Regions from separate parts of the Homo sapiens genome. Here regions 1, 2, 3 and 4 are each linked to region 5. The links are contacts of gene promoters, found by promoter capture Hi-C in blood cells and fetal thymus (Javierre and others, 2016). All regions are on one chromosome and are shown on one strand. The core of a region is centred on a gene start or on the middle of the fragment in contact, and the rest is flanking DNA. Distances in the headings are between cores, read along the strand shown.

The links. Contacts are between HindIII fragments. The CHiCAGO score rates a contact against its expected background, and 5 or more counts as called.
Region 1: a fragment that was not itself captured here is called in contact with the fragment with the promoter of MAP10 in region 5 in 1 of 17 cell types (M1 macrophages); the score reaches 5.1 in M1 macrophages.
Region 2: a contact is called between a fragment that was not itself captured here and the fragment with the promoter of MAP10 in region 5, in 1 of 17 cell types (M1 macrophages). The highest score is 5.0, in M1 macrophages.
Region 3: a contact is called between a fragment that was not itself captured here and the fragment with the promoter of MAP10 in region 5, in 1 of 17 cell types (M1 macrophages). The highest score is 5.1, in M1 macrophages.
Region 4: a contact is called between a fragment that was not itself captured here and the fragment with the promoter of MAP10 in region 5, in 5 of 17 cell types (M1 macrophages, M0 macrophages, monocytes and 2 more). The highest score is 9.2, in M1 macrophages.

The regions. Positions count from the first base shown.
Region 1 is chr1:233,174,137-233,178,753 of GRCh38, forward strand. PCNX2 (pecanex 2) reads right to left here. Exons shown (of 34, transcript NM_014801.4): 17 at 3,666-3,762. Among named protein-coding and RNA genes, the nearest start is that of PCNX2, 120 kb to the right of the region's middle. The HindIII fragment of the contact is 2,048 bases long and covers 389-2,436 here.
Region 2 is chr1:233,261,608-233,266,251 of GRCh38, forward strand. It overlaps PCNX2 (pecanex 2), which reads right to left. Exons shown (of 34, transcript NM_014801.4): 2 at 1,351-1,556; 3 at 438-558. Among named protein-coding and RNA genes, the nearest start is that of PCNX2, 32 kb to the right of the region's middle. RefSeq lists an enhancer at 1-29. The HindIII fragment of the contact is 4,475 bases long and covers 1-4,328 here.
Region 3 is chr1:233,223,772-233,228,365 of GRCh38, forward strand. It overlaps PCNX2 (pecanex 2), which reads right to left. Exons shown (of 34, transcript NM_014801.4): 10 at 3,455-3,600. Among named protein-coding and RNA genes, the nearest start is that of PCNX2, 70 kb to the right of the region's middle. The HindIII fragment of the contact is 1,260 bases long and covers 1,829-3,088 here.
Region 4 is chr1:233,242,371-233,246,501 of GRCh38, forward strand. All of the region lies in intron 8 of PCNX2 (pecanex 2), which reads right to left. Among named protein-coding and RNA genes, the nearest start is that of PCNX2, 51 kb to the right of the region's middle. RefSeq lists a silencer at 553-847. The HindIII fragment of the contact is 4,317 bases long and covers 287-4,131 here.
Region 5 is chr1:232,803,241-232,807,659 of GRCh38, forward strand. It overlaps MAP10 (microtubule associated protein 10), which reads left to right and starts at 2,176. Exons shown (of 1, transcript NM_019090.3): 1 at 2,176-4,419. The coding sequence starts at 2,210. RefSeq lists enhancers at 1,971-2,568, 2,280-2,359, 2,569-3,165. The HindIII fragment of the contact is 4,755 bases long and covers 613-4,419 here.

The DNA of each region.
Region 1 (4,617 bases), core at 163-2,662, 370 kb after region 5:
ATGTAATATATAACATATTTTATATATTATATAGTATTATAATAAATATGTATTTAATTTATATTATATATTATATAAAAATTATGTTATATATTTAATTTATATTTTATATAAATTATATATAATATGTAATATATAATTTATATTTTATATAATGTAAAATAGCAAACTATTAATATTATTGAATATTGTTTTAGAAGTTCTGGCCAGTGTAAGGCTGCAAAGAGAAAAAAATGAAAAATTTATATATAAATTTATATATAAATTTTTGGATTTATGGTAAATCCGTGCATGTTTAACTAAGAAATATATTAGCTTTTCATATACTGAACATTTTAAATTCACTGTGGCATTTTATATAGTACTTCACACTCCAACTCTCAAAGGAAGCTTAAGAACCCCTGTTCCAACATTCCACATCTAGCAGCATGGGACCAGAAAAATCTAGATATTATAACCAATGATTTAGGAAAAGACTGTTTGAATTTTACACATAAGAATTAAATAGGCTTTTTTTTGTTTCTAGGAACTGAAGAAAATTGATACAGTGAAACAAACAAATCTAAACATAATAAAGGGTGTTGAAAATGACAAAGATATGAAAGTTAAAAGAGTCTGTGCTAATAAGACAAATAGAAAAAGACTAACCAGGTAAACCATTAGCGGAAAGTTTATATCTTTATTAAGTAATGAATTTTGGTGATAAACTTTGTGTGCATAACTTATCTTGCTCATATGCAAATGTATAGGCCCATTGGTATATCTCTGTTTCTAGATCAATGTTTCCTGAAGTGCAATCTGTGGATCACCTAAACAGAATCACCTGGGTGAACATTCTTGTTAAAATGAAGATCCTCAGACCCCCTCACAGGCCAGATGAATCAGAATATGGGCAGAGGGCTAGAAAACTGAAATCTAATGAGGCTCCCTGAGGGGTTCTCATACAGACTAAAACTCAAGAAGAGAGACAGACAGACAGAGAAAATAAGAGCTGGAGACACAGAGAAACAAAATCAGAGACAATGGGAGGGGGGTTTATGCTTGCACAGTGTCACAGAAGGTATTATATCAAACTCTAAAAGCTGAATGTGATATTCCCATTAAAATATTATAATTAGGCCAGAGACTTTTCAGAGAAATGAACACAAACATCTTATTAAATCACCTAACAAGTTATGTGCTCCACACTGTACAAAGCATTTCAAAGGGTATGAAAACCAAGGGAGGCAACACCTAGCCCATCACATCTAATTATACCAATGAAATACTATCAACCTCTGCTGGGCAAATTTCTTGTCAAATTTCCTTGTAATTCCTACCTTTTTTTTAACTGCAATAAATCAGAAAGTAGAAATGCATCTTCATTAGTCATGAAATCAAGGAAGATTGAAGGGCATAGTTTTTCTCAGATATCCATGGGGAGACTTTTGGGTAGACTCTGGGCCACCCTACGGCTTTTACAGAAAATGCTGTAGGAATGTCAGTTTGACCTTCTCCCTGTAAGTCTCCTGGTATAAATATTAGAGGTCAGGTTGTGGATGCTAGGCTTATGTCAAATATTTCTCTTTTTTTTTAAGCTGCCATCTCATCAGGCCCAGCTGCTTTGACTTTTAACCTGCTTTTAAATGTATCTCTGCTCCTAAAATTCATGAACTATGCCCTTACTCATATTAAGTGATTTGTCCTTTGATTCCCTTGTAGTGGAAAAAAAGCCTTAATACTAGTTTGAATTCTGACCACACTCAAAGGCACAAAAGCTGAGTATGAATTTTTTTAAGGCTATCATGTTGGCTGTGAGTCCTGTACGTCGTCTTGAAATGGCAGACTGCAATTAAATTCATCGAAATTCCATGAACTGTACTGAGCACCCACTGTAACACCGGGCACTGGCTCTGTGGATATCAAGACAAATGAGACACAGTCCTGGCTGGATCAACAGACTATTTCTCTTTTCCTTTTATCTGTCATTCCTAAGAAAACCAGGAAAAGTGTGAGTCAAGGACATCAGAGGCTCCAAGCTCAATACTCAGATGTATGGGAGCTTACACAATTAATGAGCATTGTGTTTCAAAGTATGAATGTTTGTAAGTTGATACCAAAGAAACGACATCTGCTAAAAGAACTTTTGAAGCTGTCCAGAGCCCTTATCCTGGTGAACAAGGAAATGGCATCATTATTTTATAGTTGTAGGATTCTCTTGTTCCTTCCTTTCTCTCCTTCTTCCTTTTCTTCTCCCGTGCTCCACCCAGTGTGGTTGCCCCCTTCTCTGTGACCCAGCCATAAGTCTAAAGTCCAAGGGCCCCAAGCAATCGCTATGCAGACATCAACTTTGAAAGAATGCTCTGAACTAAGCATGGTGCTTAGGGGAGAAGATGTGGAGAACAGCTGTGTGTGGACCACATCAGGAGGGCAGGTTGGCTAAACGTTTATCTGACAAGCTTTCATTTGTGCAGAGCCCACCTGCTGTTTGGTGCCAGCAATACACAAAACGGACTGAATGTGATTCATGTGACTATCCTGGCAAACTGCAGCCACCTGAGGGCCACCTAAGTGGCCACACCATGTGTGCACAACAGCCACCATCAAGATGCTCTAGGCTGGGGGCGGTGGCTCACGCCTGTAATCCCAGCAATTTGGGAGGCTGAGGCAGGCAGATCACGTGGTCAGGAGATCGAGACCATCCTGGTTAACACGGTGAAACCCCGTCTCTACTAAAAAAATACAAAAAATTAGCTGGGCATGGTGGCGGGCACCTGTAGTCCCAGCTACTCGGGCTGAGGCAGGAGAATGGTGTGAACCTGGGAGGCGGAGCTTGCAGTGAGCCGAGATCATGCCACTGCACTCCAGCCTGGGAGACAGTGAGATTCTGTCTCTAAAGAAAAAAAAAGATGCTCTAAAGGGCTTGTAAAAAAATAAAGTAAAGGTTCCTCTTCAAAGACTTTCCTCCCCATTTAATTAGGAATAAATAGTAACTTCTCTTAGAAGCAAAATTTATTCAAAGACCTGTGCTAACATTCTTAAATATCTGCTAGCCGTGATAAAGAAATCAATGTACTTTATGTTCTTAGCTCCCACAATTTAGCCTAAATACTTGCTCTGGCATGCTTATACTGGTCCAAGCAAGCATTAGGTCATAGCCTGATCCTCTTCCTTATTTAAAGGTGTTTTTACCTTTCTTAGCATTCCACAAGTTACTTCCTCCTTCCTTTGTTCTCCTCTACCTTTGCCTCTTCTAAAAAGTTCTAAGTTGCTAGCCAATCGGGACAAATATAGAATGTGAGGCCCCATTCCAGCCAATGGAAACCGGACACAGCAGTAAGGTGGATGTGTCAGGTTATAAATGACCCTGTCTCCTTTGTTTGGTGTACTCTCATGGCAAAACTGCTGGCGAGTGTACCCTTTCTGCAGAAAGTATAAAAATGGCCTTGCTGAGTAAGTTAAATTTACTTTCAAGTGATATTCTTTACAGCACCGGAGAGCAAGCGTTTCAAATAGGGCTGCACCTGGCAGGCAGCTCAACAGCCCAGTGTGCCAGGTACCAAGCGAGGTGTATCTTTCTGTCCTAGTCCTTCTCATGTCCACCTGCCTAGAGCTCCATTGAGAGCCTGATCTCTGCTGAAAGATGAGGCCCTCCTATGCTACATTACACAACGCAAATGTCTCACCACTGAATCTTTCATCTTCTTGGGGAGAGGGTCAGCAGCTGACTCTGCCAGATTTTGATGTAAAAATTTAGGAAACAGCCTGCATTGGATGAAGGACCTGAAAGTGGAAAAACACAATACTTCATCAAAGATGTTCCTGGGACAGTGTTTTCGGTAAATAACTTCACCTTAGATCTCACACCCACACATGACAAAAACAAGTGCTCTCTTCATTTAAAAATTTATAATAAAAAGAGGTGCATGTTCAAGTGATCATAAAGATAGTGTTTTGATTTGTAAATTTCATCCTAATGAGAGCAGTCAAGTACCTTAGCAGTATCATTGCCCTCTATTGTCAGCAGTGGGACATGGGGAAGGTCCTCCATCTCTGCTAGCCCACTAGGGCTTCATCTTCACAATTAGCAGCAAAAAGTGAACATTGCACTAATACAATTGACACTAAAAATTGTGTGAACCATGTTTAACTTTTGTTTCCCCCATTTTTCATGCCTTTCACACTACTGCACCTCATGGCCTAAAATTATGGTGTCTCTGGTCTTCAAAGAGTTACGGTTATCTTAAATCAAAATCTTTCATAAATTTAAACAAATTACATAAGATGCTACTGTCAATATCTTAAACTCACTGTGGCATCACATGAAAGATTTCCAGTGCCAGAGTACACGTTACCAAAACTTAAAGATATGATTAAAGGGAAGATTGTAATGTATACTTTCACATTACTAAGCATTACATTAAATACATTTTAACACTTTGGTGCAAATTTCACTTTAAATCCAGAGGACGTTGGCCAGATTGGGAACAACAACAACAACAAAACAATAAAATCAAACAAAATCTTTCTTTTCAGAGGTGCTGGTTTAGTCTCCCCAGGGTAACTGCCTAGAGTAAAGGCAGGGATGTAGTTAATGGATCTAGAGAGGGTATTGTTGAGGAGGCAGCTTCTTACCCA
Region 2 (4,644 bases), core at 841-3,340, 460 kb after region 5:
GAGCTCAACAAAGTTAATCTAGAAAAAAGGTGATTTATTGACTTCCCAAAAAGACAAGTGTGATTTAAAATGGAAAGCAGAGGTGATATCCATTTCAGGTGGAAGGCACTGCAGATATGATGACTTAAATGAATGACAACAGAAAGAAGCAAAGGCCTACATATTGGTTCTCTGCCCAGTGTGGTTGACCCAGCAGCGCAGGTGGACGGCAGGGAAGGCCAGAGAGTGTGCTTTGAACACACGACTGGGCATTTATTTTATGGTCCCAAGGGCACCCTTCAGGCCATTTCCAGACCCTGGGATGTGATATTCCACTGTACACGGGCCAGTGATTACAGCATGCAAGCTACAATCACTGCTGCTGAACACTCCCATTCTAGGTGAGATCAACATCGAAATCACATGAAGAGGGTGAAACAGGAAAGAAGACCACTAACCAATGGCCCAGAAGAGTGATGAGAGGTTATGCTTTGCCCTCTGGAGCTGCAGCGGAGGGGAGGCGTGGAGAGGTTTCGACTGGCCTCTTCCTTTTTGCCATTGTGAATCTGCCTATTATTGCTAACCCAACATGAGAAACACAAGAGCAGTGAGCGATATTATCAAACAGAAGCATGACTCTTTTAGTACTAGTCTAAAAACTTTTTTTCCTAGAGTCCATTTTGTTATATTCCTTACATATAAATCTTTTTTTGTTGTTGTTAAGAGACAGGGCTTCGCTCTGTCTGGGTAGACTGGAATGCAGTGGCACGATCATGGCTCACTGCAGCCTCAAGCTCCTGGACTCAAGTGATCCTCCCACCTCAACCTCCCAAAATGCAAGGTTTACAGGCATAAGCCACCATCTGCAGCAGATAAATCTTATAATAAACATTATTTTTAAATTAGAGGACATGCTATCTTAAGGAGCTATAAGAAATAATACAAGAATGGTGAAAAGAATGCTAACTCAAGAATTACTCTTAATATTTCAGTTCTATGTAATGTATTACTTTTATATCAACAAACACAAATGCTGTTCTTTAAAATACTCTGGCATGCTCTAAGCATTTAAATAACAACATTAAAAGCAGTGAAGGGAAATTTTTTGCAGTGCTAAGCCTAAGGCAAATGAATTCTAGATCTTATGAGAAGGTCATATTGACTTCCCAAAAAGACATTTATTGGGAAGCCAGTTAAACCATCTTGATTATGAATATCAATTTTATGCTTAAGTATATGCTGAAATATAAGAAAAATGCATATATTTCTGTCTGCCTATACTAGTAATTTCATAAACACTGATAAAAAACTTATTTTAATCAAGAGCAAAACATTTACATTTTGAAGTGTCACATTAATTGAAAATATTACCTTGGATTTCTGTGATTAGTTATGTGTTCACCTTTGGCCTCCTTGTCTTTATTTGGCTTTTCTTCCTTTCTGGAGGGCTTTTGCTGAATTACTTCTCCTTTGTCAAACATGAGGTGTAGGCGATAACTGACCAGTTTGATTATTGTGAAGAATATAGTCACTGCACTGCAGTAGAAAAATACAATGATCGCATTTGGAGGAAAAGCCTGAAGAAAGGAAAAGACAGAGAAAAATCATTTGCTTTTAAGATTTTCTTTCTGTTTTAAATCTGGAAGCATTTTTAGACTATCTATTGAATATAAATTAGGCAAGATTTCAAATTAGACTAATTTTTTAAGTTTTCCTGGTTAAAATACTTGAGGAGAAAGAGCTGCTTTTTATTTTTTGAAGTCTTTTTTGTTTCTCAGGTTCTGTAGTAGTTGCACTGATAACCAACATTTGATTTGCAGGCAGGAACCCCACAGAACAAAAGATATATTCGAGGAAACCTCTCCATTTTTTTTTTTTTTTTTTTTTGAGACAGTGTCTCACTGTATCACCCAGGCTTGAGTGCAGTGGCAAGATCTCGGCTCACTGCAACCTCCGCCTCCCGGGCTCAGACAATTATCCTGCCTCAGCCTCCCGAGGAGCTGGGATTACAGGCATTCACCACCATGCCCGGCTAATTTTTGTATTTTTAATAGAGACAGGATTTCATTATGTTGGCCAGGCTGGTCTCGAACTCCTGACCTCAGGTGATCCGCCCACTTCGACCTCTCAAAGTGCTGAGATTAAAGGTGTGAGCCACTGTACCCGGCCTCCATGTTTGATAAGCTCTTATCTATGGCCTAATCCAATGCATCTTCCTATGCAGCTCATCTTAAAGGCCAGAGATGTATTTTGTTTTCAACAACAAAACACAAAAAGCCTTGTGGAGAACAGAAGGAAAAAGAAGGGAGAAAGGTTAGGGTAACCACTCCCCCATTCCCCTCCCTAACCTCCCACTGCGATAACGCCTGCAGGCCATGGATTTCCCTAGGGTTGTATTGCACACAGGGAACCACAAAAGGGTACTACTTCCAAAAGGAAGAGGGATATTTCCAGCAGAGACAAATGATCTGAGCATGGCGACCATAGTGAGGTTCAGCTCAATTCTATGCAATCCCTTCAAGAAACAAAACGAAAAGAATCACTGGGACCCGTGGAGTTGTCCCACTCTGTAGCATCTCCCATATACCTTCCTAATTCTCTCCAGGACCATGGACTATCACACGTTCTCTGGTCCTTCCTAAACTACATTCCTATTCTTTGGGATGGAAAGAGATCCCCAAGTGTCCCAAGGTGATATCCAGGACAGCCTCAATGATTCGCAAGACCATTTTATCAATGGACTTCCCTAAAGAATATCAGAAATCCAGTGATCCGTGTAGCTGGTGCCTCAACCTAAACATAGCTAGGCTTGCAGACAGCAGGGCCCAGTCCATATCCATGCCTAAGCAGACCCTGTACAGCTTGCCGTGGTCCCATGCAAGAGTCTATCTTCCAAGTTGGACTGTCCCTAAAATGGAATAGCCAAACAGAGCACAAAAAAGAAAGAGGAAGATGATCAACAAGTAAAAGATAAAGTCAGAGATTTTCACCATCACTTAACTCGCTCTTATTATGTCATGGGGGGAAAAGTCCACAAATAAATATAAAGCAAGCAATAAATAAGTGACGGAATAACTATATAAGATGATACAAGCTAGATAATAAAGCCAGGTCCACTACCTGGCAGCAGATAAGGTTTATATTTACAAAAGGTGCATTTGTAAATATAAACCTTATATTTACATCCTAAATACTACTAATACGTTAAAATACTACTAATTTAAATACCACTAAATTAAATACTACTAATAGTTTTGGGTTTCAAAAATTTAAGCTAAATCTAGAGAGTTAATTTGAAGAGGGTAAGAAGGAAAAGAAAACCTGCAGATGTCCGTGAAAACAGATTATTGTTATATAAAAATGATATTCCGCCAGGCATAGTGGCTCATGCCTGTAATCTCAGCACTTTGGGAGGCCAAGGCAGAAGGATTGCTTGAGCCCAAGAGTTCAAGAGCAGCCTGGGCAACATAGTGAGACCCCCCCTCCGATCTCTACAAAATTTAAAAATTAGCCAGGTGTGGTGGCATGCACCTATAGTCCTTGCTACTGGGGAGGCTGAGGTGGGAGGACCTCTTGAGCCTAGGAGTTCAAGTTTACAGTGAGCTATAATCATGCCACTGTACTCCTCCTGCCTGTGCTACCAAGTGAGACCCTCTCTAAAAAAAAAAAAGGAATTATATTCAAGAGATTGTTGAATTTTCATGTAACTAGGGTTTCATAGTACTCTAGTCAGCAAGGGTAGCAAAGAGAGTTAGTGATCACTAAATACTCCATCCTCTCCTCTTCATTTCCTAGCTTCTCTTGCAGTGAGGCTGAGGCCATATGACTACTTTTGCCCAATGGACAATGAGCACAAGTGCTGGCTTAGACAATTATGAGCTAGGTGCCTCCCGCATCCCACTCTTTTCCTCTTTACTTGGTGACCTCAGAAGACATGTTTTCCAGATGATATGTCTATAAGATGATGCAGTTTCTTTCAGACTAGGTACCTGAGTAACTCTGCGGAGCAAGGCCCCTATAAACACAAGATGAGCCCATAACGGAATAAGTAGTAAACTTTTGAGTCATTAAACCACTGAGATTTGGAGTTGTGGCCGCTGTGGAAGCTAGCAATACTTAATTAATAACAGGGGGGTCCATTTTCATGAGGAATCTTCCATTCAAATTAGATTAGAGATAAATTGAGAAAACCCTAAGGCACTGAGAAAAGAATGGAAGGGAAGAAGAGTAAGAGATAAAAAATTGTATAGGGCTCTTGGGAAAATTCACTTAGAAAAAAACTGGCATGCCCCAATATTCAGAGAGATATTGCTTTTCAGTTTATCCTCATAAATTTAGGCTATAGTGTAAGCTTGGTAATACTGAAATTAAGTGAGGGCAAGAAGTTAGAATTTGAAGTTACCATGAGTACTAGCATCTAGCTAGCAACCCAAGTGAGAACAGGCCCTTGCCTCATCCTCTATAAAGGACCACTTGGCACTTTGTCATATCTGCAGCCCATGGACCTGACCAGACCATAGTGGGAGACAGAGATTTTACTGAAAATTTTCTGGAAGAAAGGTTTTACAGCATGCTATGCATGGTACATTGTTTCTCCCCAAACTCCCTGATCTCTTAATTCCTTTAAAAACCTCTCCCTAGCCAGGTGCAGCAGCACGTGCCTGT
Region 3 (4,594 bases), core at 1,209-3,708, 420 kb after region 5:
AAGGATGAGAGCTATAAGTGTGTGTTCTCATGGTAACTGATGACAATTAGTTTAGTTTGAGAAGCATGAATGATTTCCTCTTTACTTGTCATATAGCTAGCTACCTCTCATTTTATATCTCAGTTTGTGTGTATCTTCCCCAGAAAAGCCTTTGCCAACCACCAGTTCGAACATCAGTGCCCTTCCCTCTCAGGTCTCTCTATCTCAGGCCTTTATGTGCTTCCTTCATGGCACCTATTACAGTTTTCTCTCCTCTCCCAGAAAGTAAGTTCCATAAGGGCAGAGACAATGGCTGTTTTATTTATCACTCCATACCCAGTGCCCAGTACAGATCCTAGCACGGAACAGGTGCTTTGGTTCATATTTGTTGAATGAATGAAATGTTGAAATAATGCACAGAAGGGCAACTTCTTATTTCAGATGCTGACCTGATCGACTAGATAAATGAAAATAAACCCTCAGTGTTTTGAAGGAAAGGGTAATGGCAAGATATGAAATCAGAGAATATAAGTAAGGAGAATAGGACAAGTCCAGAAACATCTGAGTAGAATAGGTGGAGAACTGCAGGCAAATAGCTGGAACTGCAACGGCAGGAACCATGAAACTACTGCCCAAAGACTAAGAAAACATTTTTAAGGAAGAACAGCCTGACTCTTTTGAAGAATGTCATGCAGGATGACTTAATCTATGGGAGTTTATAGCAATGATTACTGCAATTTTAGTGCTTGTTACCCACTGCTTTCTTCCGCTTCCTGCCTAGCTCTTACAGTTTGTTTTTATTATGCATATTATGCATTTTTACCCAGCTTCCCCAATGATTCCGACCCACAGCCCTGTTTGGGGATTATGCTCTCCTTGCAAAGGTCCCAAACAGCTCAGTTTTTCTAGGTCAGTATTTTGGGTTTCTTCCTCCTTCCTCACTGTGAGCTGTGAGTTCATGTAGTCCCTTTCCTTATTTTAATTGACTCTAAATTATAAAACCAGATCACCAATCCTGCTAACTGATGACTTTTGGTAGGCTTATATGGCTCTGAATTAAAAGTGACGTTGCCTCATTCTCAGCAAACTAACACAGGAACAGAAAACCAAACACCACATATTCTCACTCGTAAGTGGGAGTTGAACAATGAGAACATATAGACACAGGGAGGAGAACATCACACACCGGGGCCTGTCAGGGTTTGGGGGGCAAGGGGAGGGAGAGCATCAGAACAAATACCTAATGAATGTGGGGCTTAAAACCTAGATGACGAGTTGATAGGTGCAGCAAACCACCACGGCACATGTATACCTGTGTAACAAACCTGCACGTTCTGCACATGTATCCCAGAACTAAAGTAAAAAAAAAAAAAAAAAAAAAAAAAAAATGTTATGTTACCTATGAACTAACAGTCTAAATTTTAGTGTCTGGATTTGACAACATCTACTTTGGCTAGCCTAATTTTATTTATTTTTAATTTTTCTTCTTTCTGGGAGCTGGGCCACATTCCAAGTAATAATAATAATAATAGGAGCAACTAATATTTAAAGAACTCTTTCAATGACTAAATTGATTTAATCTTTACAACCTCCCTGTGTATAGATTATACCCATTTAACAGATAGGAAACGGACGCACTGGAAGGTTTCATAGCCATCCTAAGATCATAGCACTAATAAGTAGTAGGGACCAGGTTTAATTCCCAAGGCTGACTCGAGTCCAGGGATTCCCCAACCAGCTGAAGGATCTATGGATAAGGGAATGGTGCTATTTCTAGGTCATCCCTAAGCACAACATTTAAAAACCCATTGTAACTTGCCAGAAAGGTGATTAAAATAATGAAAACATAAGCTTTTAAAAAGTGCGGTCATCCTCATCATCCTTCCTAGACTTCCAATGGATTTCCAATTAATTTTTTGTCACCAAGTAGATTTTAAAATAACAGACAAATCTATAGATACATTTATTTTTGTTTTGACATGAAGGGTTAATGCAAGCTAGTCCAACTTTCAATAATTTCTTTTTAACAGAAAATAATTAATATTTCAAAAATGCCTCATTTACCAGAATATACTATCTTGGATTTTTAGTTAAGTATTAAATGTTCCTTCTAAGTGTGTGCCCCTTGGGTAACATAGTGTTGTTAGGAAAACCATTATAACTCCATTCCCTGACTTGTGGGTCCTGAAATTTACTGTTGTAATTTTGCATGACTATAGTTTTTTTCATATGTGATCACACTATTTAAGACATTACTATAAAAACCAGTCACTGGGGGACCAATGACAACAAGACAGGCAACCAGTTTTTCCACTGCCCCCAAGAGCTGGCATTAAACTGTGAAACTCAGCAATTGCTTATGGCAGCATTAGTAATAGCATCTGAAATTTTCAAGCCAACCGTGTAGTCAGTGCTACTCAGCCCCTGAACATCATAAACTGTTATGTGCAAATTTTGAGGTAGGAAAAGATACAAATGAGAAGCCCCCACTCCTTAGGCCCATCTCCATCATGTTTTCTTTTTTCTGGGTGGGGGGGAGATTAAGTTTTGCTCTTGTTGTGCAGGCTGGAGTGCAGTGGCACAATCTCAGCTCACTGCAGCCTCCGCCTCCTGGGTTCAAGCAATTCTCTAGCCTCAGCCTCCTGAGTAGCTGGAACTACAGGCATGCACCACCACACCCGGCTAATTTTTGTATTTTTAGTAGAGATAGGATTTCACCATGTTGGTCAGGCTGGTCTTGAACTCCTGACCTCAGGTGATCTGCCCGCCTCAGCCTCCCAAAGTGCTGGGATTACGGGCTTGACCCACCATGCCCAGCCTCCATCATGTTTTAACTAACCTTAACTTCTCCTCCTCTTTCTCCCTACCCAGTAACCACAGCTCCAACCCCACAACGTTTTGCTGTATGGAACAGTGGTAGGAGGAGGTGAGAAAGGGGAAAGGAGATTAAAGGAAAAATTAACATTCAAGTGAGTGTACATCAGATACAAGTGAGCAATAAGAATCCAAGGTGTCCGGGAAAGAGGCAGAAATCACCCTACTTCATCTTCCCTCCTCTCCCCATGCCCACACCCAGTCAAGCCAGGCCCTGTGCTACAGATGGGCCTCAAGCTTTCCCACAAAAATAGGGCAAGACGTGAGTACACCAAAGCATGCTACTGTGCCCAAACAAACCTTAAATACAAACCATTTCTTATTTCTTATTGTAACTTATTATTTCTCATTATCTCTTATTATTAATATGTTAATTTATTATTAATAAGAGTTACTTATTGTAACTCTCTTATTTCTCATTGTAACTGCTGAACTACAATTTGTTGTCAGGATCTTTTTGCTTTAACTTTGGGTTGTCAGCAAAGGAAGCGTACAACTTGAAAATGTGCAAGTGACAATGTTCTCTTTGAAAGCATGCAGTGGGCACTGTCACGTCCCCGGTGTGCCTTCCGACAGTGTGTGTGCATGCTCAGTGGCTTACCGATCAAGTAATGCCAGCAAGGTCAGTCGATCATACCAGACTTTAATCCACTTGCCAGGGAAAATGATAAATTTGTAAAACTGCTCTCGGTTAAATTTTCCTTGTGTTGAAGAACATGACGAGGCTTCCAGATCCTGACTCACATGCTTTTAGATACCAAAAGAAACAACAGAAAAAAGGGCTTTATGTTGTCATGGCATGGCCACAAATATATATATATATGTATACACACACACACATATATATGTACACCATAATTTAAAAATACAAAAAGCAAATGTTCAAATTCTGATATGTAAACCAACATATTTCATTCAAACTAAATACTCTAAGAAAAGGATAATGATCAACAAAAAGCGCTTTTCTTACCAACATACTTCAATTTCTTTACAACGTACCATTAAAATTCTGCTACTCATCACGTCAAAATGCTACTGCTCATTAAGGCCAAGAAACTGCTATAAAAATAGTTCTTATGAAAAGTAGGAATTCAATAAAAGATCTTAAATGACTTCATTTCTGAAAAGTGTGTTAATGTTGAGATACATATTCAAATTTTACTAAGAGTAAAAAGATTTTCATTGGCAATATCTAGGTTATTGGTGAAGCCTGCTATAAGAAAAACTGAAATATTTATTGAAAAAATCTAAATCATTAAAACTAAAATGTGGAGAAATTTAGACCCAGATAGTAAAAGTTTTAACCCCTAATTCATCTCTTATTAGCTCTAATTCAGTGGAAAAGAATTCAATTTTGAAAAAAAAAAATTAGTCTTCATTGATTTGTCTATCAAATACTTAATGAGGGATTCTTAGGAGCCTGGAACAAGGTTGGGAACACGCAGTTTTCCATGTAGTCCCCCTAGTGAAGATGTTGGTAATAGAATGTGTTTAGTTAATCCTAACAGTGAGGTCCCAGATGAAGTGGAGAGCCTCCTATTGGACATCCCACCTGTGTTTTGTTTCCCGTTCTCCGTGTACAGAAGCTGTTAAAACCAAAGCTCCCATGCAGCTCCTCCTTCATTGTTTGACCGTTTGCTTGTCACTTCTTGCTACTATCTTAAGCCTTCTCTAGATACCCCAGCCCCCTGCAGAGCTTCTATTTCTAACCTCTATATATCTTTAATTGTGGGTGAAAAAC
Region 4 (4,131 bases), core at 1,195-3,694, 440 kb after region 5:
CTACAGAATGACTCTTCCATTCAGTAGACTACCATGCCTATTTTGTGAGTTATAGATCCTCAAAATGAATGTAAATATCATGTCTTTCCAATCAGATTTCACTGGGGAGCAGATGATATGCATTTTGCATGCATTTCCATTAGATTGCTTATGACACCGTAAAAGCCAGATTAATACTTAAACATGGTTATAGATTGTCCATAGAAGAAAGCTCTGCTATATTACTTGGATTCATTTATACACAAAGAAATATAAATATTTGCTGAACAAAAAAGAGAAACTATCAAGCTTTAATTACAAGATCTACTGAGTAGTAATAAAACTTCACTCTGCAACAAACCCTCTGCACTCAAAAACACATTTCAACTTTCTAAGCAGCTTCACCTCCAACTTCCTAGGCAGATAGCCTACTTCCACTTTGGTTTTCTAGGCAGATTAGCAATTCCAACTTTCTGGGCAAATTAGTTCATTTTGGCTCTGAACTACTGAATCAATCTTGTGTTCTGGGTAATAAAATACTCAAGTGGATTTATCCTCTGGCAGTTTTTCCTACTAGCAATTCTAAAGGCTGCAATTCAAGCTGTAGTTTCCTCATTCTGGTTTCTGGGGAAAGCAGAACTGTGTTAGGTAATGTTACCAAAGATACCTGCTCTATGGACAGCTATTGTACAACCGGAAAATGCTGCTTATGTTTCTGCAGCAGTCCACAAGAACCGCACTGGTTCCCACAGTGACAGTGGGGCCAAGGAGAGAAATTTGTTTCCTCTCCCAGTTTCCTTCAGGAATCCCCAAAGAGACATGGAAGTTACATTACTAACAATTCCCTATTCATACTTGGGAGTCAGGGATATAAAACTGTCACACGGTAACAAGGCTCAACAATAGCTAAGAGGAATGGCTTTTTTGCCAATAATAAGAATCAGCCGTTTAATGGCCCAGTTGGAGACAGTCCCAGCCACTGAAGTCACCTTATGGGGAAAAGGCTGCTTTTCCAATATATCTTCCATGGCTGAATGGCTTACAGCCCCAAGTAGGCATCCTTCCAAGTTCAAAATCAAAGTTTATGTTTGTTTACTGTAATAGAAAACTTAAAATCTAATTGCATTAAAAGCCAAGGACATAATATTAAAGGACCTACTCTAAAATTATCATACATGCCAAGATGTTGGAATACAACAGGTATTTAAGGGGAATGCCTTAAAATCACATAAATCAACTCATAAAAGCACTAGAGGAAAGGCTTCCATCTGGCCAAAAGTCTCTTTTGTTATATAAAATCAGATATTTTGTTATAAAAATCAAGAAACAAAAGTCAACATCTTTTGGTATATCAAGTCACAGTGCAGTTTACCTGAAGTCCTGCTTCTATCCAAAGACAGTAACAACAGCTAACACTGACTGAGGACCCTCTATGGCAGGCACTGTCCTAAGCACTGCATGTGTACTATCACCTTTATTTTTTATTTTTTATTTTTTTTTGAGACTGAGTCTTGCTCTGTTGCCCTGGCTGGAGTGCAGTGACGTGATCTCGGCTCACCACAACCTCCGCCTCCCAGGTTCAAGCTATTCTCCTGCCTCAGCCTCCCAAGCAGCTGGGACTACAGGCATGTGCCACCATGCCCAGCTAATTTTTTATTTTTAGTAGAGACGGGGTTTCACTATGTTGATCAGGCTGGTCTTGAACTCCTGACCTTGTGATCCGCCCGCCATGGCCTCCCAAAGTGCTGGGATTACAGGCATGAGCCACCACACCAGGCCCACATTTAATTTTTAAAGCAAACCAGTGAATTAATTACAGAAGTATTATCTGCATTTTTTGGTTAGAAAATGGATACTTAAGATGGTTAAGCAAGTTGCATAACGTCAAACAAAAAGTAAATATCAGTGCTGGAATTTGAACCCAGATAAGTCCGAGACAAAACTTGTGTTCACATAGCTAGATACTAAACCTCTGATTTCAAGGAAGTAAAATTCTCAGTGTCAGATTTTCCTCTGTTGTTAGCTTTCATACAGACAGGGAAAATTGTTTCCTTATGAACTAATAAAACACAGGGCTGGACTGGGTGCGGTGACTCATGCCTATAATCCCAGAACTTTGGGAAGGTGAGGAGGGCAAATCACTTTGAGGCCACGAGTTCGAGACCAGCCTAGCCAACATGACAAAACCCCGTCTCTAGCAAAAATACAAAAAATTAGCCAGGTGTGGTGGTGCATGCCTATAATCCCAGCTACTTGAGAGGATGAGGCAGGAGAATTGTTGAACCCAGGAGGCAGAAGTTGTGGTGAGCCGAGATCACATCAATGCACTCCAGCCTAGGCCACAGAGCAAGACCCTGTCTCAAAAAAATTAAAAATAAAAATAATAAAAACTCAGGACTGGAAAATTTAATTTGAGTCTCCACCTCTGATTTCTATGTAGATTGGTTTTAAAAGGCTCATTTTACATGTTTCATTTTGCTGTACCTTCCCACTTATAAAAGGAGAAGATCACATTCTGTGTTCAAATGCATTGATCTGGCAAACTGCTAGTGCTTCTGGCTCTCCCTCCAACCGTCCCACCAAAGATGAGGGATTTATTTGTTGAGGTCGTTTTGATAATCCCACATTCATCAGGGTTGTTTTGCTCTGCAAATAGATTCCCATCACTCCTGCTGCATAAAGAACAAACCACACTCCTCCACCGGGTTTCATGGGCCCCAGGGCCCTACTCCACCCCTCCTGTTTAGCTTCTCCTGCTGTCCCTCACCCCAGAACTCCAACTGGGCCATCTTTGTCATTTCCAATGATTCATTTGATTTAATCCCACATTTATTGAGCACCTACCTATAAAGGGCTAAGCAAAGGCTGGTTTTAGATGTATGCAATCTAGAAAAAGAGATGAGAACCCTCTACAAATAAATGAGATACCAGGGAGACTGTGATCAGCATCCTCCTGGCAGCAACTTGAAGAGATGAATTTCAGAGAGGACTGAGAAGGAAAAGAAGCATAACAGAGGCAGATTGTAACTTGAGCTTTCAAAGATGAGAGTTTCAAAAGGGAGCAATGAGTGGAGAACTTGGCAAGGTGGTTTGGAGGAGCCTGCAGGGAATCACCTAGGGGCATCTGGATGCCGCACATGTGTGCAAGAAGGGCTGAGGGAGGAGGGCAGAGGCTGCTTTCCCACTGGAGGGGGCAGGGCAGAGGCTGACCACAGGTAGCTCACAGGCCACAGCCAACCACGCACAACCTGTGGTCTGTGGTGTTGTTAAAAAAAATTTAAATCGGCTGGGCGTGGTGACTCACGCCTGCAATCCAGCACTTTGAGAGGCCAAGGCAGGCGGATCACGAGGTGAGGAGATTGAGACCATCCTGGCTAACATGTTGAATCCCCGTCTCTACTAAAAATACAAAAAAATTAGCCCGGCTGTGGTGGCGCGCGCCTGTAATCCCAGCTATTCAGGAGGCTGAGGCAGGAGAATCACTTGAACCCAGGAGGCAGAGGTTGCAGTGAGCCCAGATCGCGCCACTGCACTCCAGACTGGGTGACAGACGGAGACTCTATCTCAAAAAACAAAACAAACAAACAAACAAAAGAAACTTAAAATCAACAACATGAAACAAAATACACTTTTAGATACAAATATGCATTTCTAGCTCCCTGTGGAAAAAAACGGAAAATCCTATCACCTGGGACTTATGAGCCATCATAAGTAGACTAACATAGCAGCAGCCCTTCAGATAGGATAAATGTCCTTCAGATGGGATGAATGCCCTTCAGATGGGATGAATGCCCTTCAGATGGGATAAATGCCCTTCAGATGGGATAAATGCCCTTCAGATGGGATAAATGCCCTTCAGATGGGATGAATGCCCTTCAGATGGGATAAATGCCCTTCAGATGGGATAAATGCCCTTCAGATGGGATGAATGCCCTCTGATTTACTGCAGTCATCACCACTCCTCTCTACCATTCCACACTGGGCCAGCTTCACCTATTTATCACATCTGCCTGGGCTCTGAGGAACCCTGAGCTTGTGACGCCATGGTGGGGGATGGGAGCAGGGAGGGAGACTCACCTGTCCACTGGCCACTTAGTATCTACATGAAGCTGAGCACTTTTGGCAATCAGTCTTAGTTTCCTTATCTGTAAA
Region 5 (4,419 bases), core at 926-3,425:
GTGATGATGTCTTTTTTTTATTGCTCTACATCATCTATCCATTGAGGATGTTGCTTGATATGTGTCCTCTGCAAGTATATAGCAAGATTCTCAAAGCCAAGAGAAGTATCTTGTAATTTTTTTTTTTTTTTTTAGATGGAGTCTCGCTTTGTCACCAGGCTGGAGTGCAGTGGTGCGATCTCGGCTCACTCACTGCAACCTCCAACTCCCTGGTTCAAGCGATTCTCCTGCCTCAGCCTCCCAAGTACCTGGGATTACAGGCATGCACCACCACACCCAGCTGATTTTTGTATTTTTAGTAGAGACGGGGTTTCATCATGTTGGCCAGGATGGCCTCGATCTCTTGACCTCGTGTTCTGCCTGCCTCGGCCTCCCAAAGTGCTGGGATTACAGGCGTGAGCCACCGCATCTGGTCCGAGAAGTATCTTGTATTTATATATTGCAATGAGACTTCTCTCTCACGTCTTCACACTAAAGCATCATATCCCTCCAGTTCTGAATTTCTCTTGAGCTTCACAATGTTCTTCTGAGCACTGAAGCAATATAATTTAACTATAATTTATAAAGCTGAATAAAGCGGTACATATATAATGCCCAGCAGCAGGTACCTCAAGCTTTACATATCTCAAAACTCAAAGTATTTTTTTCCGTCAAATCTGTGCCTCCTCAATATTTTCACCTTCAGTAGCAGAAGTTTTTCACCCATGACTTTTCTTTCCCATTCACCAAATTTTAAAATTCCTCCATCACAAATGCCTCTTCTGCCACCTCTTTTTAATTTCCACTAGTCCTGACCATGTGCAGGTCATAATTATCTGCCTCTTAGACCACTGCAGTAGTCTTCTAATAGATTGCTCTGAATCCAATTTCTAATTAGTAGAATCCATCCTTTGTATTCCTCCCCATGATACATTTCCAAATATTGCTATGATGTACTTATTCAATCAAAAAAATTTGGACAGAATATAGTCCAAATTCTTTACCATGGCATTCAAGGCTCTCCAAAAACTGGCCTTGGATTCCTAGCTGGCTAGCTCATTGAGGTTAGGAGTATGTTTCTTAAAATATCTGGATAGAGCAGCAAGTTCTGTGTGTCTCTGTAGATGTGTGTATATTTATGTACACACATTTGTTTTATTGATGGAATCATTAACATTACTCTCATGCATCATGATTGCTTAGCTGGAAATGTTGTCAAATAAAAAACAGGGCCAGACAGTAGTTGAAGTGGCAAAAACACTGTAGTCAGGAACTACTGCAATAAGAGAAAAGAGACCTCAATACAGAGCTGGGCTCAATTCCAATTACAGCATGGACAAGTGGGGATTTAAAGCCAAGGGGGCGTCAGGTCAAGTGGATGGAAACTTACTGATAGGGAACATCACGGGTGGGAGGGTTCTGATTAAGCAGGCCTAATAGGATTCTTGCTGAAGCCAGGCCAGGGTGGTCAGATACCAATGATAGAAAATGAAGAATTTGATCAGGTATCGACGGTAATCAGGTATGAAGGGTTGGGGGTTCTCTCTCAACAGCCGTAGCGAGACCTTTGCTACAACTCGGTGATCCAGGGTCCACAGGATTGGAAGCCAAGGTCAAGGCCTAGTCGGAAAGAAGGCTTAGATGAGCCTGACCAAAGTTCAGCCAAGGAGAGTTTTTGCCAGTGTATTCACACTCCGTGTGTGTGTGGTGTGTCTGTCTCAGTACTACTGTAATTGATGAGGCAGGGGCTCCCTGGCCATCCCAGCAGTGTCACCATCTTTTGGGTAGAACAGCAGACACAGAGATGGCCCACTGTGGACAGTTAACTAACTGGCTCTGTTTAGCATGGGAAAGGAAGGAGAGTCCTGATTTTCTTTCAATATTCCTCAGGTATATTGATCTGACCCCCAAGTTACATAAGATCTGCAGTGATAAAACCATTACCCAAAAAACTCACTGTCTTTTACCACTTATATCCTCAGCATTATCATCAATTGTCTTAATACAAGGTTGGTGGCAAAAAACGGCTCACAAGTATGCATACAAAGGGGCCAAACACATTGAGCAGCAAAACCCCCAAAGCAGACACCGCCCGAGACCCGCTGGAGCGCTTCCGCAAATCTCGCGAGATAGCAGGCAGCGATGCCTTTTGCTCCGGTTTCTCGTGAGACCCCGGGGCTTCAGCTTCTCGTTTGCGGAGCCCGCGGCGGCGTTTCCTGGGGCAACAGCAATGGCGGCCTCGCTGTCCGAGCGGCTCTTCTCGCTGGAGCTGCTGGTGGACTGGGTGCGTTTGGAAGCCCGGCTGCTGCCGTCCCCCGCTGCCGCAGTGGAGCAGGAGGAGGAAGAGGAGGAAAAGGAGCAGGGGGAGGCCTCGTCGCCGCGCGGTCTGTGCCCCGCCGTGGCCTTCCGCCTGCTGGACTTCCCCACGCTGTTGGTTTACCCTCCTGACGGCCCCGGCGCTCCCGCCGCCGAACCGTGGCCCGGTGTCATCCGCTTCGGTCGCGGCAAGTCCTGCCTCTTCCGCCTGCAGCCTGCTACCCTGCACTGCCGGCTCCTGCGGACCCCGCTTGCCACCTTGCTGCTGCAGCTGCCCCCTGGGCGCCCGACGCCCACCCCACAGCTCCTGGGGGCCTGCGACATTTCGCTGGCCACCGCAGCGCACAGGGTCGTGGGGCCGGCCGCCTCCGGATGCTCCCACCGTCACCGGGGACGTTTCCCCCTGCATAATCGAGTGGGCGAGCGGACTGGGGACATTGCACTGGCCTACCGCCTGACTGACCTGGGAAGCCGCCTGCTGAGCCAACTTGAGCGGCCCCTCACCTTCACCCGCACAGGAGGAGGAGCGGAGGTCAGTCCCCAAACCCAGCAGGAAAGACAGCAGCTGCAGCAGCCAGCCTCACAGCCAAGCCCAAAAGAGGCTGATAAGCCGCTGGGGGAGTTAGAAATCCCAGAGGCACAGAAGGATTTGAAGGAAATGGTTAAAAGTAAGGCCGAATGTGATAATGTGGGTTCTGTGGAGAATGGCAAAACCAATTCTGTTGTTACATGTTCAGGTGCTGGCAATGGGAGAAATGTTAGCTCCCTAAATGAGGAAGTCACAGAATTGGACATGGAGACCAATATATTTTGCCCTCCTCCTTTGTATTACACTAACTTGACCCAAGAAAAACCGCCCCCTGCACAGGCTAAAATCACCATTGAGCCTCAAATGAATGCACCTGAGGAAATGGATGATGCTTCTCCTGAAAAAAAGCGTGTAAATCCCCCAGCACACAGGAGTTGTCTAAAGCATCCAAGTTCTGCAGCACACGAACATCCTCCAATGCTTGTAAATCCTCCACATATTCAGAATATAGGAGCAACTAATCAAACATGTCAAACTGAACAAAATCGAATTAATACAATAAGGCAGTTGCCTTTGTTAAATGCTTTGTTAGTTGAGTTGTCCTTGTTATATGACCAACCTGTGACAAGTCCTGCTCATATACATCCTCACCTAGCCTGGTTATATAGGACTGAGGATAAGAAGTCACCCGAATCTTCTGCCAAATCCACATGCCGGTCTGAAGCCAAGAAGGATAAGCGTTCTGTGGGGGGATGTGAAAAGTCAGTGAGTCTTCAGTATAAAAAGAACCAAATTGAAAACTATAAGGAAGATAAATATTCTGAAAAGAGCAGTGGTGCCCTCCATAAAAGAGTTCCAAAAGGGAGGCTACTTTATGGCTTAACAAATACACTAAGACTACGTTTAAAGCTGACAAATCCTGATATGTTGGTGGTACATGAAAAAAGAGAACTATATAGAAAAAGACAATCACAAATGTTGGGTACAAAATTCAGAATTCCGTCATCCAAAGTTAAACTATTAAGCTCTGCAGAACAAAGTCAGAAGCCACAACTGCCTGAAGATAAGTATTTAGATTCAGATGCATCTTTCACTGAAAATAGTGATACCTCAAGACAAATCAGTGGAGTTTTTGATGAGCCCAGCACAAGTAAAGAAACTAAACTGAAATATGCAACTGAAAAAAAGACAGTTGATTGTAGTAAAAATAGAATCAATAATGTTTCATTGGAAGAAGTTGTGAGTCCTGCAAATTCCATTATTCCAGAAAGGCTTACCCCTACAAATATTCTGGGAGGAAATGTGGAAATGAAAATCCAAAGTCCATGTGTTTTCCAACAGGATGCTGTTGTTGACAGAATTGTAGATAAGGAAATAGATATTAGACAGGTCAAAACCACAGATAATGACATTCTTATGGCTGATATAAGTGACAAGAGAACAGGTAAAAATAGTTGCTATGAAAACATCTCAGAACTGAAGTATTCAGATGATTTGTCTAGCCCTTGCTATTCTGAAGATTTCTGTACCAGTGAGGACACCAGCAGAAGTTTCAAAGCTCATGATAGCAGTTCAAGGACAGAAAATCCAAAACA